Linked DNA regions of Homo sapiens: region 2 is linked to region 1. Evidence: promoter capture Hi-C in 16 types of primary human blood cells and fetal thymus (Javierre and others, 2016). All regions are on one chromosome and are shown on one strand. The core of a region is centred on a gene start or on the middle of the fragment in contact, and the rest is flanking DNA. Distances in the headings are between cores, read along the strand shown.

Region 1 (7,353 bases), core at 4,043-6,542:
TATGATTCCTGCACCTGCCCTGTGGTTATAGAGTGGGCCTCACTCCCTCTGAAGCGGGTTCCACACTCCTGTGTCTTGGCACCCACACTGTTCATGGTGAGTGGGACGTTCTTTCTACTCCCTCTTCCGGGAGAGCTCCTACTCATTCTTCAAGGCCTAACTTAGACATCATTTTCTATAGGGGATGGAAAATAAATAGTCCACACTTGTTTTGTGGACACTGAAATTTCAATTTTATGTACTTTTCACGTGTCACAAAATGTTATTCTTCCTTTGAATTTTTTCAGCCATGTAAATACATAGAAACAATTCTTAATTCATGGACTGTACCAAAACAGGTAGCAGATCAGATTGGCCACAGCCAGAGTTTGCCAGCACCCCCTCTGCCCTCTTGCTGTTCAAAGTGGGGTCCATGCCCAGTAGCCTCAGCCTCATCTGAGAGCTTGTTGGAAATGCAGATTCCAGGGACCCACCCAGACCTACAGACTCAAAGACTACATTTTAACAAGGTCTCTGGATGGCTCAAGTGCATTTTAAACTTTAAAATCTACGCTCACACCACTGCACTCTAGCCTGGGTGACAGAGTAAGACCCTGTCTCAAAAAAAAAAAAAAAATCCTGCCTGGGTGTCACCCCCAGAAATTCTAATTTAATAGGTATGGGGTGCAGCCTAAACAGCTAAACAGTGGGACTTTTTAAAGCTCCCCATGTGGTTCTAATGCACAGCAGAGTTCCAGAACTCGTGCCCCAGAGAGATTACCCAGGGAAAGAAGACTGCTCCTCCTCCTAGATCCCAGAGTCCCCAGGTCACTCCTGCATAACACAACATGTCACTGTAGAGAAACTATTTGTTACACTCTGAGCTCCTCTGAGATCAGAATCCTGTCCAATCCTAATTTATGAAGGTCTCAGACAAAACACCTACCGCCTCTGGGACTGGATCTCCTCCTCTTCCAATGCATGGCTTTGTAGCCGTAAATCTGCTCTTCACTGACCGCCTCCCTCCCCTGGTGCCCCAGGTGAGTGCAGAGAAGGCGGCCTCCAGAGCCAGGGTCACCCTGGCCTCTCCCGCCCTCCCTGAGCTTCCCCCGCTCAGGCCAGCACAGGCTCTGGGGAAAAGGGGAACAAAAAGAGGCAACCCACACATCCAGCAAACCCACTGAGCCCAGGGGGTGCACAGACTGTACCTTCCACAACCCTCCTCCCCTCTTTCCCAGCTGGAGGGCGTGCAGCCCCTCTCCCCCTTGCAGTGGGTCCCCGCTGCCCCAGCCCCTGCCTCCTGACTCCTCTGCCTTTTGGCCCTGACCCAGCATTTTCCTGGAGAAACGTGTGAGGGAGGGGTGCACGGCACTGACTGAAAGCCACACAAGAGTCTTGCCTGGGAGGGCCTCTGTTCGGGAGAGGGCTGGGGGACACAGGACAGCCCCTTTCAGGCCAGGGCTGACACTCCTGCCCCACCTGGCCTTGCACCCCCTGGCCAGGCCCCTCTCTACCTGGGGCCCTCTCATCACTTTTAGCTCTACAGCTAAGCCCTGCACTCCACAGACCCTAACTCTCTCCCAAGACCTCCCACTCCAAGCCCCCTACAACATGGCAGCCTCCCACCCTCCAGAGTCCCCACCACAGAGCATCCACAGCCTAAGGCTTCCGAATCCTCGAAGGTCGGATCTAGATGGGGCCTCGAGAAGTCTTATTATACGTATAGGGAAACCTACGCCCAGAGGAGGGGAAAAATTGGCCCGAGATGGTGGCAGACTGGGGACCACCACCTCCCTCTCCCCCATCTAGTCCCACACACTTGCCCCACTGCAGGGCTCCTCCCACTGCACCAGCTGCCTTAGCAAGAGAAGCAAGGACACAGCTCTGGGTTTCAGGAAAGATGGAAACCCAGAAGAAGGGGCCTGCTGGGGCCAACTCTTAGCCTTTGACTAAGGACAGTGTGACAATGCCCTGCCCCCAACCTCCCCCCACCTACAAGCCCAGCCCAGATCAGTGGAGGTCAGAGTGGGCAACCGTGCAACCCACCTCCCTCCCAGCACAGAGTAATAGAAACAGCTACTATTTATTGAGCACTTACTAAGTGCCAGGTGCCATGCTAAAAGCCACGATTCTCTGCCGTACTTATTAAATATTATATTCCCATTTACCAGATGATCAGAATGAGGGTCAGAGAGATGAATCAGCAGGCCTACGGTCACAAAGTTGGTAAGGGAGTGGTGGAGGAGAGGCCTTAGAGAAAAATGTTTAAGCTCAAAGGCATCTCAGGGTTCCTCTTCACTGCCTGGGCTTCGAACCCAGATCTGTTTGATCTGTTCCCTCGGGGCTCTCAGAGGAGATTCAGTGAGACACCAGGACACGGGTAGGGGCATCCACACTCGGGTTTATCCATTCAGCAGCTATCTCAAAGGTATCAGGGCTAGAAAGATGGGCTGGAGGACAGGCACCCCCACACCAAGGAAGATCAGCCCCTCTCCTGGTCCAAAGACTGTCTCATCATGAGCCCAAGCAGATGCCTCTGTCCCAAGACCACCTGGTGTCAGAGAGAACACATGGGCTTTGGGATCATCAGACCTGGGATTGTTCCCTTCTCTGTGTGACCTTGGGCCTCAGTTTCCTCATCTGTAAAATGGAGATACCTAGCTAGTAGGGTCAATGGAAGGAATAGAAAGAGGTTGTGAAAAGGGCCCGGTGCACGTGATAACTAAATGCTGCAGGCTGCTGGGCGTGCACTGTGAACTCTCCCCCATCCTGGGCCTGCAGGGGGAGCAAGCTTTACCCCAGAAGGAAGCAGCAGGGAAGCACGGCCTGCAGAGCCTCCAGGAATGTGGTAAGGCTCCTTGGCGCCGAACCTGACTATGAGCCCTTCTTTAATTAGTTCCCACTAAAAATAACTCCCCCACCACCCGGCTGCACACCTACCTCCTGGCCTGGCACTGAAGTGTGCCTGAGCTACTCTTGGGGGTGACAGCCAGCCTGTGACAGAACCTACAACACGGAGGGTGCACAGAGCAGGAGGCTTTATTGAGGGAGATACAGAAGCGGGCGTGGGCTCTCGTGCCAGCCAGGCCGCGGCCTCCACTCGTCCCACACGGCCCTGCGGCTCCTGCACACCCCTCCCTCCCGGGCTCCTGGACAGCAGGCAACATAGAGGAGTCTTACCCAGCCTTGGCAGAGGTGCCGGGAGGGCCTTCAGAGTCTGTCCAGGGGAGGGTTGGGGGGACACAGGACAGCCCTTCTGTGCTGTCGATGACATGCCTGCCACATCTACCCATCTGTCCACCGCCTGGTCCATCTCTGCCTGAGGGGCCCTCCTGTCACTTGCAACTCTGGAGCCGGGTCCTGTGGTGCTTCTCCTCGGTCAGGAGGGGGATGAAGGTGTCGCTGTGGGAGAGCTTCAGCCGGCTGCTGCAGCTCGGCGCCTCCTTCCCCGCAGGCTCTGGAGGGAGGTTGTCCAGGTCACTGCGGGAGCCCCCGGTCTTGCCCTCGCCCCCGCTGCTGGAGTTGAGTTCCATCAGCTCCAGCTCGTGCTTGGCCGCGGTCTCCAGGACGCGCTGCTTGTTGTAGTACCTGACAAAGTTGTTGATGATGGGGTGGATGGGCAGGGCGATGGCGATGACACCACACAAGAAGCTGATGGCCGCGTTGAGCTTGCCCAGCGTGGTCTTGGGGTAGATGTCGCCGTAGCCGACGGTGGTCATGGTGATGATGGCCCACCAGAAGGACTGGGGGATGCTCTTAAACAGGGTCTCTGGATGGCTCTGCTCCATGGTGTAGCCCAGGGCAGAGAAGACGAAGATACCCACTGCCAGGTACATGAGCAGCAGCCCCAGTTCCTTGAAGCTGCGCTTGAGGGCATAGGTGAGGGTCTGCAGGCCCGAGGAGTGGCGGGCCAGCTTGAAGATGCGCGCGATGCGCATGATCCGCAGCGCCTGCACGGCCTGCTGCACGTTGGTCAGCTCCATCATGCGGGCACCCAGGTGCGTGAGCGTGAGGCTCACGTAGAAGGGGAGGATGGCCAGCACGTCCACAATGTTCATGAAGGACAGCGCGAAGTGCAGCTTGTTGGGTGACGAGAAGAGGCGCAGCAGGTACTCCAGGGTGAACCAGCCAATGCACGCCGTCTCCACGTTCTCCAGCGTCGGGTGCTCCACGCGGTTGCCCTCGGCGTCCAGCACCTGCAGCTCGGGGATGGTGCCCATGCACATGACCACGGACGAGACGAGGATGAGCAGGAAGGAGAGCACGGCCACCACCCGCGCCGGGCACGACGACTCGGGCTTCTCCAGGAACTTCCAGACGCACTTCTGGCAGCGGCGCCAGCGGCCCTCGGCTGCGTCCACGCCCAGGTCGTCCAGGATGAGCTGCACGCGGCGCGCGATCTCCTCCAGCTCCTCGCGCTTCTCGCTCAGGTGGCTCTTGCAACAGTCGTCCAGGAACTTGAGGTCCACCTTCCAGAAGTCCATCTCGTTCTTGAAGCAGATGGGGCAGATGCCCTTCTTCATGTGGACCTCCCCGAAATAGTACACCTCGATGACACACTTGAAGGCGTCCGGGTCCCTGTCAAAGTAGAACTCGCGCTTGCCGGGGTCGTAGTCGTCGCACAGGGAGAAGATGGTGTCGTAGCCCCCAGCCAAGCAGTTGATGAGCTCCGCCAGCCGGGTCTCAGGGTACTGACTGAGGAGGTCCCCGTACAGCACCTGCCGCACGCCCCCCACGTTGACGACTATCTCTATGTCGTCGCTGGCAGCGGAGCTCTGGCTGCCCGGCTCCGGGAGGCTGCGCTCCCCGGACCCGTCCATCCTCCCCGCGCGCGCCCTCGCAGCCTCCGCCCCGCGCCCCCTGCAGCCGCCGCCGCCGCTGCCGCTGGGGGTCCGGCGGGTGCCACCCGTGCGCTGATCTCGGGGAGAGCCTGGCCGGCGCCCGCCTGCGGGGAAGGGCGGTCACAGCGGGCAGCAGCCTGCGGGGGCGCGCCGCGGGGGAGGCATGCACCCGGCGGCGGGGCTCGGGGCTGGCATCCGGGCGCCCGGGCGAGCCCGCGGGGGCTTTGGCGGCCGCCGGCCTCGCCCGGGGCACTCACCCCGGCTGGCTGGCGGCGCGCTCCGCCGCTTCAGCTCGGCCTCCTGCGGGAGCGGGGTCTCCTCGTGGGCGGCTGGCACCGTCCTCCGCCCCGGGGCGCGCAGGCAGCGGCGGCAGGTCCCGGAGCTGGCGGACCCACGCCGTCCGCGAGGTGCTCGAGGTGTGCAGAGAGCGAACTTGGGCTGGCTTTGCCCGAGCCTTTTCTAAACACAATAGGAATTCCAGCCTGACGTCAGGAGCTTTTCAAACTGTACCCTCTTCTGGTGAAATTCTGCAAGGCACGCGCGGCAGCTGCAGGGGACGGATTAACCCTTGGGCAGACGGGCACAGCTGCCGCGCCCGCCGCCACCACCGCGCACCGCCGGCCCCTCCTCGGGCGCAGCGGGTCACCGAGGGGTTGCGACCTGGCTTGAAGCGGCAGGCATTCTCTCTCACTGCTGTTTGGAGAGGATTAGTGGGGAGAGAATGCTGCCGCCTGTTGCTGGGCAGGAAAATGTGCTCCAGGAAGCCCCTTAGAAGGTGACTCCTATGTCTGGGTCCCTCCTCCGGCCTTAGACCCGCGCCGGCTTTTCCTGGTGGGAGGAAAATCCTGCCTGATCCTTGAAGCGTTTCCTGCCCCATCCCCCCGACCCAGCAATGCCCTGCTGTGTTGGTGGCACTGTCTCACCTTCCCCGCAACGCTGTACAAGGAGGACATCTAGTCCAGCCTCCTGTAGAAGGGAAGGGACTTGCCCAAGGTCACGCGGCGGAATGAGAGCAGAGCTCAGCTTGACCGCCTCCTGATCCCGAGCTTTCCGGCTGTCCCAGCTGACCGACGCCTGCTGTTCAGCAGATTTCAATTCTGCCTTGAAGTCCCTGCCGTCTGGCACCTCCTATCTCTCTGCAGTCCCACACCAAGGCCACTAGCTTCCAGACCCCTAGGGTCCAGTGGCTCCTGCTTCCCCGTTCCTCACTCCTTGACCAAGGCCTGTCTCTTCCTGACCAGTGTCCCACACCCTCCTCTCTTCCAGCCTTTGCAGCCACAGCTGTCCTTCTGTCCTCACTCACCTGAACCACTACAGCAGCTTCCTAACAGTGTCTCTCTCCTCCGGTTCACCACTATCATCAATACTGCAAATTACTGATATCATCTATGGCCTCGAGATCGTGTTAAAAATATTCTGGAGGGAAGAATGAATAGGCAGAGCAGAGGATTTTTAGGGCAGTGAAACGTACCATAATGGCGGATATGTGTCGTTATGCAATGGTCAAAATCCATAGAATGTTCACCACCAGGAGCGAATGTTAATGCAAACTCGGTGCTGGGCGATGATGACGTGTCCATGTGGGGTGGTCCACCATGACAAGTGTCCCACCCTGTGTGAGATGTTGATGCGCAGGGGAGAGCTGTGGAGACAGGGGGCATGTGGGAATTCTCTGTACTTTCTGTTGAATTGTGCTCTAAAATATAAAGTCTATTTAAAAATGTATTCTGTAGGCTGGGTTTTTTAAAACTTAAGGACATGTCCGTTAATGGATTATGAAATCAATTTACTGGGTCACTGACAGTATTCTTTTTTCTTTAATGAGTTAGCATAAAACAGAATATATTAGAATACATCACATGAAGTATTATTTAGTGAAACTTCGTTTTACAAATTTTACTTCATTTCCATTTAGCATCAGACAATGACATGCTACTACAGAGTAGGAAATCGAGGCTCAGAAAGGTTGAGTAATAATAAGAGTTGCCACTTATTCTCCATGGGCATCGGAGTGCAGTCTCTGAGTGCTTTGCATTTTTGTCATTTAATTTCCCAGCAACCCCTAAGGAAACAAGATGTCAGGTAACCTGCCGAGATCACTCTGTGGAGCTGGGATTTAACCATTGTCCTGCTGGGTTCTGAGGCCTATTCTTCTCCCCAGTACAGTGCTACACACCACCTCCTACACACACCCCAGCTTCCTCTTCCAATCCTTATGCATGCTACTCCCCTTATCAGCTGTCCGAGTACCTGCAGGGTTAAGTTCAAATTGCATCCTAGTCTGAGCTTAATGGGCTTCTAAATACCCATTCATTCACTCAGTTATTCAAATATTTATCGAGCTCTTATGGCACATGTGTGCAAATGCACACACACACACATACACACACCACCCTAGGTGTGGGGACAGGGTTCATATTCTAGTAGATAATATGTTTTTTGTAAATAATAATTAACAGTTTGGGGTAATGACCTTAACAAGAGGGGTATATGTATTATACAAGAGTGGTGCTTCCTGAATTTCTCCACAGGG
Region 2 (7,164 bases), core at 2,706-5,205, 75 kb after region 1:
GTCTTAGTTCCTTCATTGTTGACTCCCTCTCAGCCCTAAAGGTAGCAGCCGCTTCCTGCAGCTGCTGTTCCTGAGATCCCTGGAGTCCTCTTCTACCCTTTGTAGCACTCAGCCACCAGATTTCACCTGTTAGTAGTGTCCTGAGGCTGCTGTAACAAAAGTGCTAAAAACCAGTGGCTTAAAAACAGCAGGAACATGTTCTTCACAGTTCTGGAGGATGGAAATTTGAAATCAAGGTGTCAGCAGTGCCCTGCTCCCTCTAAGACCCCGGGGATCCTCCTGGCCTCTTCCACTGATGGCTTGCAGTGGCTTCACTCCACTCTCTCCCTCTGCATTCCATGGCCATCTTCTCCCTGTGTGTCTGCATGCAAATGTCCCTCTTCCTACAAGGACACTGGTCATATTGGACAAAGCCTGCCTTTGATTACATCTGCAAAGATCCTATTTTCAAATAAGGTCACATTCACAGGTATCGGGGTTAGGACTTCAACATGTCTTTCTCAGGGACACAATTCAACCCATAATACCAGACCCTTTGTGCTTGTTGATGAGTCATTTTCCCTGTTACCTTTTCCCTGTTCAAAGTACCGGTGTGGTTTCTGTCTCCTGCCTAGTCCCTGACTAACACATGGCCCTAATTTAACTCACCATAACTCTCATCTGTCCCAGTCCAGCTGAGGTGGGATATTAAAGAAAGAAAAGAGAAATAGAAATTAAAAGGGGGGGGGGAAACAAGCTGCCTGTGATCTCCTGCTTTACCCCGAGGTCTCTCTTGTCCTCCTGATTTTTTTTGCAACAGAGCAACCCCTAAGCCATCTCACTGCCTCCACGCCCATCCATCTACAGTCTCCTTCCACAGCACCCTGCTTAAAACCCTCCAGAGACTTCTCAGCCAGGGTGAAATCCACGCTCTGCCCCGTGGTGCTCTGCCCTGCCCCTTCCCACACTCACCCTGGACCTGCGTCTCCCCTTGCTCGCTAGGCTCCGAGCCCAACAGCATCCCCGCCCCAGGGCCTTTTTTGGGCCACTCTTTGGACCTGGCCTGAATCCCCCAGGGCATCTGCTGCCACCACCTCATCATGTGAGCCTCTGCTCTGCCTCTCCCCTCGGGGAGGCGTTCCCTGACCAACTACTGGCTAAGGCCCCCTCCTGGTCACCCGCTGTCACATGGCCTCCTGTTGTTATCCTCCCCGCATGCACCTGTACCTAGAATTGTCATGGCTGTCTGTTCTGTGTCTGCTCCCCACTCCACCCTCGGCAGCGTTAAACCCTGAGACCAGGACCAGGCACTGCCTAGCATCTCCAGCACCAAGGACAGTGCCCGGCACACAGGAGGGGCTCAGCGAGTATTTGTTGACTGACTGTTGATGTTGCAGCCTTTATTCGAGTACAAATCTACAGAATACGGTAATTACATACCCAGCATTTTAAAAATTCAGATTTTCAGAAATAACAACCACCTGAAAGAAACCCTGGATCTTGTGGGTTTTCTTCATAAACTTCAGCACCTTTGTCCTTTCTCATCAACGCTGTGGAAAATGCTGTACGGTCAGGCCTGCCGCTGAATGAAGTCACTTCCTACTGAACCCTGGGGTGGCCCTGTGCGACTCCTCCGATGGACAAGGCTGGCCCTGGCAAGGGGAACGTCCACACAGGCCTCTCCAGCAGAAGAGCAAGAAACTGGAAGGTTCTCTGATGATAAGTCCTGCTCTCTGAGAAGCAGCACAGTCAAATGTAGAGAACACAGGACTAGGGGCTGTGGTTAGAGCTTTTGCCATAGACTGAGTGTTTGTGTCTCCCCAAAATCCATGCATTAGATCCTAATGCCCAGTGTGATGGTATTGGGAGGTGGGGTCTTTGAGAAGTGGTTGACGGGATCCGTGCCCTTACACAAGAGGCCATGGAGAGCTGCCTTGCCGCTTCCACTGTGTGAGCATGCATTGAGAAGACCCAAGAAATGGGTCCTCACCAGACACCAGATCCGCAGGCGCTCTCATCTTTGGATTTCCCAGCCTCCAGACTATGAGAAATAAATTTTTGCTGTTTTTAAGCCACCCAATCTGTGGTGATTTTTTTACAGCAGCCTGAACAGACTGACAGCTTTGTTCCCCAGTTTGTCACCTCCTGTGTCCTTGGGCCACACCCTTAACCTCAGTCAGTGACAGTTCTCCCCCTGCAAATGAGTAAACTAAGGAGACCTTGCTTTGAGGGAGATGTGTCCTGTAGAGAGAACACTCTAATTAATGCTAATTAAGCTGTTTCCTAATACAAGCCAAAGTAATCATTAAGAAAACAATGTCAATGGTATTAGCATTTGGTTACACTCTTGGGAACAGCTCAGAAAATAAAAGCCTATGAATGATTCCAGAACATGCTTAGAGCTGCTTCCTTGCTGCTGCCACCCAGATCTGACTCCTTAATAAGCCTGAGAAGTCTCCACGAGGAGCTGTTCTTGCCTGGAGCCTCTGGAAAATTGACATAACTCACGACGTGTGTCAGATTGCAGCAAAGATGGAGCTCAGAGAGGTTCCATTCCTGCCTGCTCCATTTTTGAAAACCAAGAGAAACTCATCAGAGTGGCAAGAGAGTGGCCAGCTCTGAGGAAAAGAACCCCTGGGTGGACCTCAACACCCACCCCCGGCACTTTCTGAGCCACTGCTTTCCTCTGCAAAGTGGGGCTATAATCTCTACCTTCAGGGAGAACGCAGATTACAGATACTATATGTACACAGTAGGTAACCAATGAATGGTGTCAAACGTCCACCATCTTGGGGCATGCGGAGTGCAGGGATCCGGCCACAGACCCGGGCCCTCTTCCAGCTGCCCAATCAGAGCCCGCTGCAGCCCACTCCTCACCTGCAGGCCCCTTGCCCCCAACTCATGGGCAGGGTCCCTCTGAAGCTGTTACCCTCATTACTAGAATGTAAGGTCACGGGGCAATCTGTGTGGTCCACAGGTGCATCCCTGGCACCTAGAACACACAATCAAACATTCAGTAAATGTTTGTTGAGGGTCATATGAATGAATGAATGAAGGAAGCGCCCAACGCCAGCCTTTTAGCCAACATTCTCTCATCACGAGAATTTTCTAGGGGCTCAGACACCAGTCCCTGGGTCCCTCCAATTCCAAAGACACACACAACTATCCAGACAGTTCCCTCAAATGCCTCCCCCAGACTTGGGAGAGACTAGTGCACAGGCAGCCTCTCCAGAGCAGTCCCTGCACCAGCCTCCTCAAGCTCCCCAAACTCTCACCCTGCCTTATTCTCCCTGGAGTGGGTGAGGGCCCATGCTGGTAGAACAGCTCTCAACCGCCCAGGCAGAGATGGGCTACCTGACACCTTGTGCTTTCTTCAGAACCCCTCAGGGCCTCAGCTGAAGCTCAGACAGAGTGCCTGCGTGCGCGCGCACACACACACACACACACACACACAACCTAATTTTCAACACACTTGCACAAATATAGAAACATCATGGGGAAAAATGCAAAATACCTATGATTTCTGGAACAAGATCCAAGATGACAAAGATATTCCCTGCTTATTCTGCTCATGCCCGGGCTCCCCTGCCCACCCCCAGTGCGTTCATGTGATATCATGAAAAAGCAGCAGGGGTGGCATGAACTTGCACACCAGGCTGCCCAGGCTTGAGACCCAGCTCTGCCACCTAGAAGCTTGGAGCCCCTGAACAAGCTGCAATTCTGTGCCTGGGCTTTTCTGACTGCAAAATGAGGATAATCACAGCCCCTGCCTCCAAAGTGTCCCGAGGATCAAATGAGTTGATGATACTTGCACGGCGCTCGGATCGTGGTAAGTGTGCTGCATAAGTGCTCCTTAAATCACCATCTGGAGTTTCCATACCAACCTCTCCCTGGCTTCATCTTATTTTTTTCTCCCCCTCATTTTTATTCCTCTCTGATTTCCTCACGTATGTTTTTTAATCTTGTCATATTGAGTGCATCTTTGCAAACTGCTTCTAATTCTTCAGGGAACTAAATGCTGTGTTTCGTGCTCTCTTTTCCCCGTCGCCTCCTTGAATATTTAGTAAGTCTTTGTGAGGACGTCAGCCCCTCCCTGCTGGGCTGGTGGTGTCCTGGGTAAGGGGGCCGTGGCCGCCATGGGAGCAGCACACAGGCCCAGCTTGCTGGGGGCCGCACTCATGGGAAACAGAGAGGGGTGACAGTGAGAACAGAGGCAGGGACAGAGCCAGCTCCTTGATCCTGCTGCCCCTGGAAGCTTCTCCTCCCAGCATCAAGCCCAGGCAGATTTGGGGTTCTGTTGTTTAGGAGACGTGGGATTTCCTTGCTGTAAGTGGGACAAGTATCATCACTGTTAACCATCATGAATGAGAATGAAACAGAATGAGAAGACAAAAAGCCAGAAAGATGTTCTCATTCCTCTGTGCTCACACAGCTCATCAGAGAGGGTTGAGGCATGGGACCCCACGTTCTAACCCCAAGGAGTCCCCATAACCCTGTCTGCTACCCTGAGACACAGGTCCCTTCTTGCTCACATGAAGTAAGCCATCTATTTTTTTTTAATCCCCATAGAACACAAGCGGCAATGAAAAGACACAATATAAAGAAAAGGTTAAGTAGATCAGTGGTTGCCAGGGGTAAGCGAAGGGGAAGATTGGCACAGGTTTCTTTTTGAGGTGACTGATGAAGTGTTCTGGAATTGCTGGGGGGGTTACACAAACTTGTGAATACGCTAAAAACAACCAAATTGGACAATTTAAAAGAGTGAATTCTATGGCATGCGAATGATCTCTTAATTAAAAAAAAAAAAAAGCCTGCAAAAGTTTCATTTAAAACCACAGAAGGCCGGGCACAGTGGCTCATGCCTTTAATCTCAGCACTTTGAGAGGCCACAGCGGGCTGACTGCTTGAGTTCAGGAATTCGAGATCAGCCTGGGCAACTTTGTGAGACTCCGTCTCTAAAAATAGATACATAAATAAATAAATAAATAATAAAATAACACCACAGAGCCCAAAGCCCCAGACCCATCCTAGACAAGGATGCTCCAGGCCTGACGTTGCCAGTGTCTGCAGCAGGCCATCGTAGGACCTGAGTGTGCCTTAAGGGAGTGTGGGATCTGTGGCTGAATTTCAGGAAGATTCAGCTTGTATTTCTTACATGGGAAAGACCCTCGGAAAAGTAGGGGTTGATCTCCCTTCCCCTTCATCACTGGTGGTGGCACCCCCACGGGCACCTAGTGAGGCCAATAGGATCATCTCAGGCACCAAGGTACTCCACGGTCTGAAAGTATTTTTTTTTTTTTGAGACAGAGTCTTGCCCTGTTGTCCAGGATGGAGTGCAGTGTGGCTCGATCTTGGCTCACTACAAACTCTGCTTCCCGGGTTCAAGTGATTCTCTTGACTCAGCCTCCCGAGTAGCTGGGATTACAGGCGCCCGCCACCACGCCCAGCTAATTATTGTATTTTTAGTAGAGACGGGATTTCACTATGTTGCCCAGGCAGGTCTCGAACTCCTGACCTCAAATGATCCGCCCGCCTCGGTCTCCTAAAGTGCTGGGTTACAGGCGTGAGCCACCGCGCCCGGCCCCCTCTCTAAGTATTGTGATTTCATAGGATCCCCTGGCGGTCCCATGAGGGAGACAGGGCCACAGCCACTGTCCCCATTTGGCAGCTGAGTGAAGGTGGAGCTCAGAGGTGGATCCAAACCCAGGCTGGGTTTCCTCGTGGGTCGGAGATGTCTGCTTTACTTTTATTAAAACATCGTCCCGATCTGGCACACCTAAAGCTGTGTATCCGAGTGTGCCGGGCCGGCTCCCTGGGCCCCACCTGCCTTCAGGCCTCCAGCTCTTGCCTGCAGCGACCCCTGGTGGGTGCGCCGGCCTCGTCACCTCCAGGCTGGGGACTGGGCTTCCCCGGAGGCCGCACCTGGAAGGAATACGCCCCGGATAAGGCCCGCGATGGAAACGGAACCCGGCTGGCTCACTGCCAGCGGCCTGGTCAAGAAGGCGGGCTCCGGAGCCCGACTGCCGGGGGTACTTGCCCACCTCACCCGCCTGCCAGCCCTGTGTCCCTGGAGTCCCCAGCCTTTCCACCATCTCAGGCCTGGGATGGAAACAGCACTTCCTGCAGATGGCTTGGGAGGCCTGGAAGGACGGTTCAGGTAAAGTGCACCGCCCGGGGCCGAGCAGCGGCCACAGTACACACACAGGCGCTGGTGCTGCTCCTTGCTGTAGGCCCGCCCCACCTGTTCATGTTCATCAACCCACGCTATGAAATTAGTTCACTCTACGCCAGGCACAGTGGCTCATGCCTGTAATCCCAGCACTTTGGGAGGCTGAGGCAGGTGGATCGCTTGAGATCAGGAGTTCGAGACCAGCCTGGCCAACATGGTGAAACCCTGTCTCTACTAAAAATACAAAAAATTAGCCGGACATGGTGGTGCGTGCCTGTAATCCCAGCTACTAAGGAGGCTGAGGCAAGAGAATCTCTTGAACTTGGGAGGCGGAGGTTGCGGTGAGCTAAGATCACACCACTGCACTCCATCCTGGGCAACAGAGCAGACTCTGTCAAAAGAAAGAACGGAAGGAAGGAAGGAAGGAAGGAAGGAAGGAAGGAAGGAAGGAGGGAAGGAAGGGAGGGAGGGAGGGAGGGAGGGAGAGAAATTAGTTCACTCCACAAACACATCAAGTGTCCCTTGTGTGTCTGAGGCAGGGAAGGGAGGAGACCTGCCTCTTAGTGTTCATAACAAAGAAGGACCTGGACCCTCCCAGGCCACAGGAGCCTCGGCCTGCATCCAGGCCACAAGGGTTTACTAAGCACCCTGTCAGTCCTGCCAGGCGCTCAGGGACCAATGAGATCCCACCTCTGGGAGTCACTGCAGCCCAGAGGGGTGAGGGGCAGTGCCACAGAGAGGCCAGGCCTCCGTGGAAGGAGGGAGGGAGGGTGGCCAGCCCCAGGGAGGGAGGGAAGCCTCACAGGAGAAGGGCACACGTGTCCAGAATGTTCCCTCTCCACAGAGAGGGTCTTTCTCTCCAAAGCACACTGCTGCAGGCAGCATCCGTGGCCCACATAGAAAGAGGCTCGCCTTTGATCCAGCCTGAGAGGTTCCCTTTTTTGTCTCTGCTCAGAAGCGCAGCCTGAAAGGAGAGTGAGGCACTGCCTCCTTTTGAAATCATGCAATTGCTGCTG

What was found. Contacts are between HindIII fragments. The CHiCAGO score rates a contact against its expected background, and 5 or more counts as called.
Region 2: a contact is called between a fragment that was not itself captured here and the fragment with the promoter of KCNF1 in region 1, in 1 of 17 cell types (M0 macrophages). The highest score is 5.5, in M0 macrophages.

Annotation. Positions count from the first base shown.
Region 1 is chr2:10,909,873-10,917,225 of GRCh38, reverse strand. It overlaps KCNF1 (potassium voltage-gated channel modifier subfamily F member 1), which reads right to left and starts at 5,292. Exons shown (of 1, transcript NM_002236.5): 1 at 3,001-5,292. The coding sequence starts at 4,799. The coding sequence ends at 3,315. The HindIII fragment of the contact is 10,094 bases long and covers 2,773-7,353 here.
Region 2 is chr2:10,834,168-10,841,331 of GRCh38, reverse strand. It overlaps a transcript of PDIA6 not described here. Among named protein-coding and RNA genes, the nearest start is that of PDIA6, 25 kb to the right of the region's middle. RefSeq lists enhancers at 1,026-1,526, 5,567-6,067. The HindIII fragment of the contact is 562 bases long and covers 3,675-4,236 here.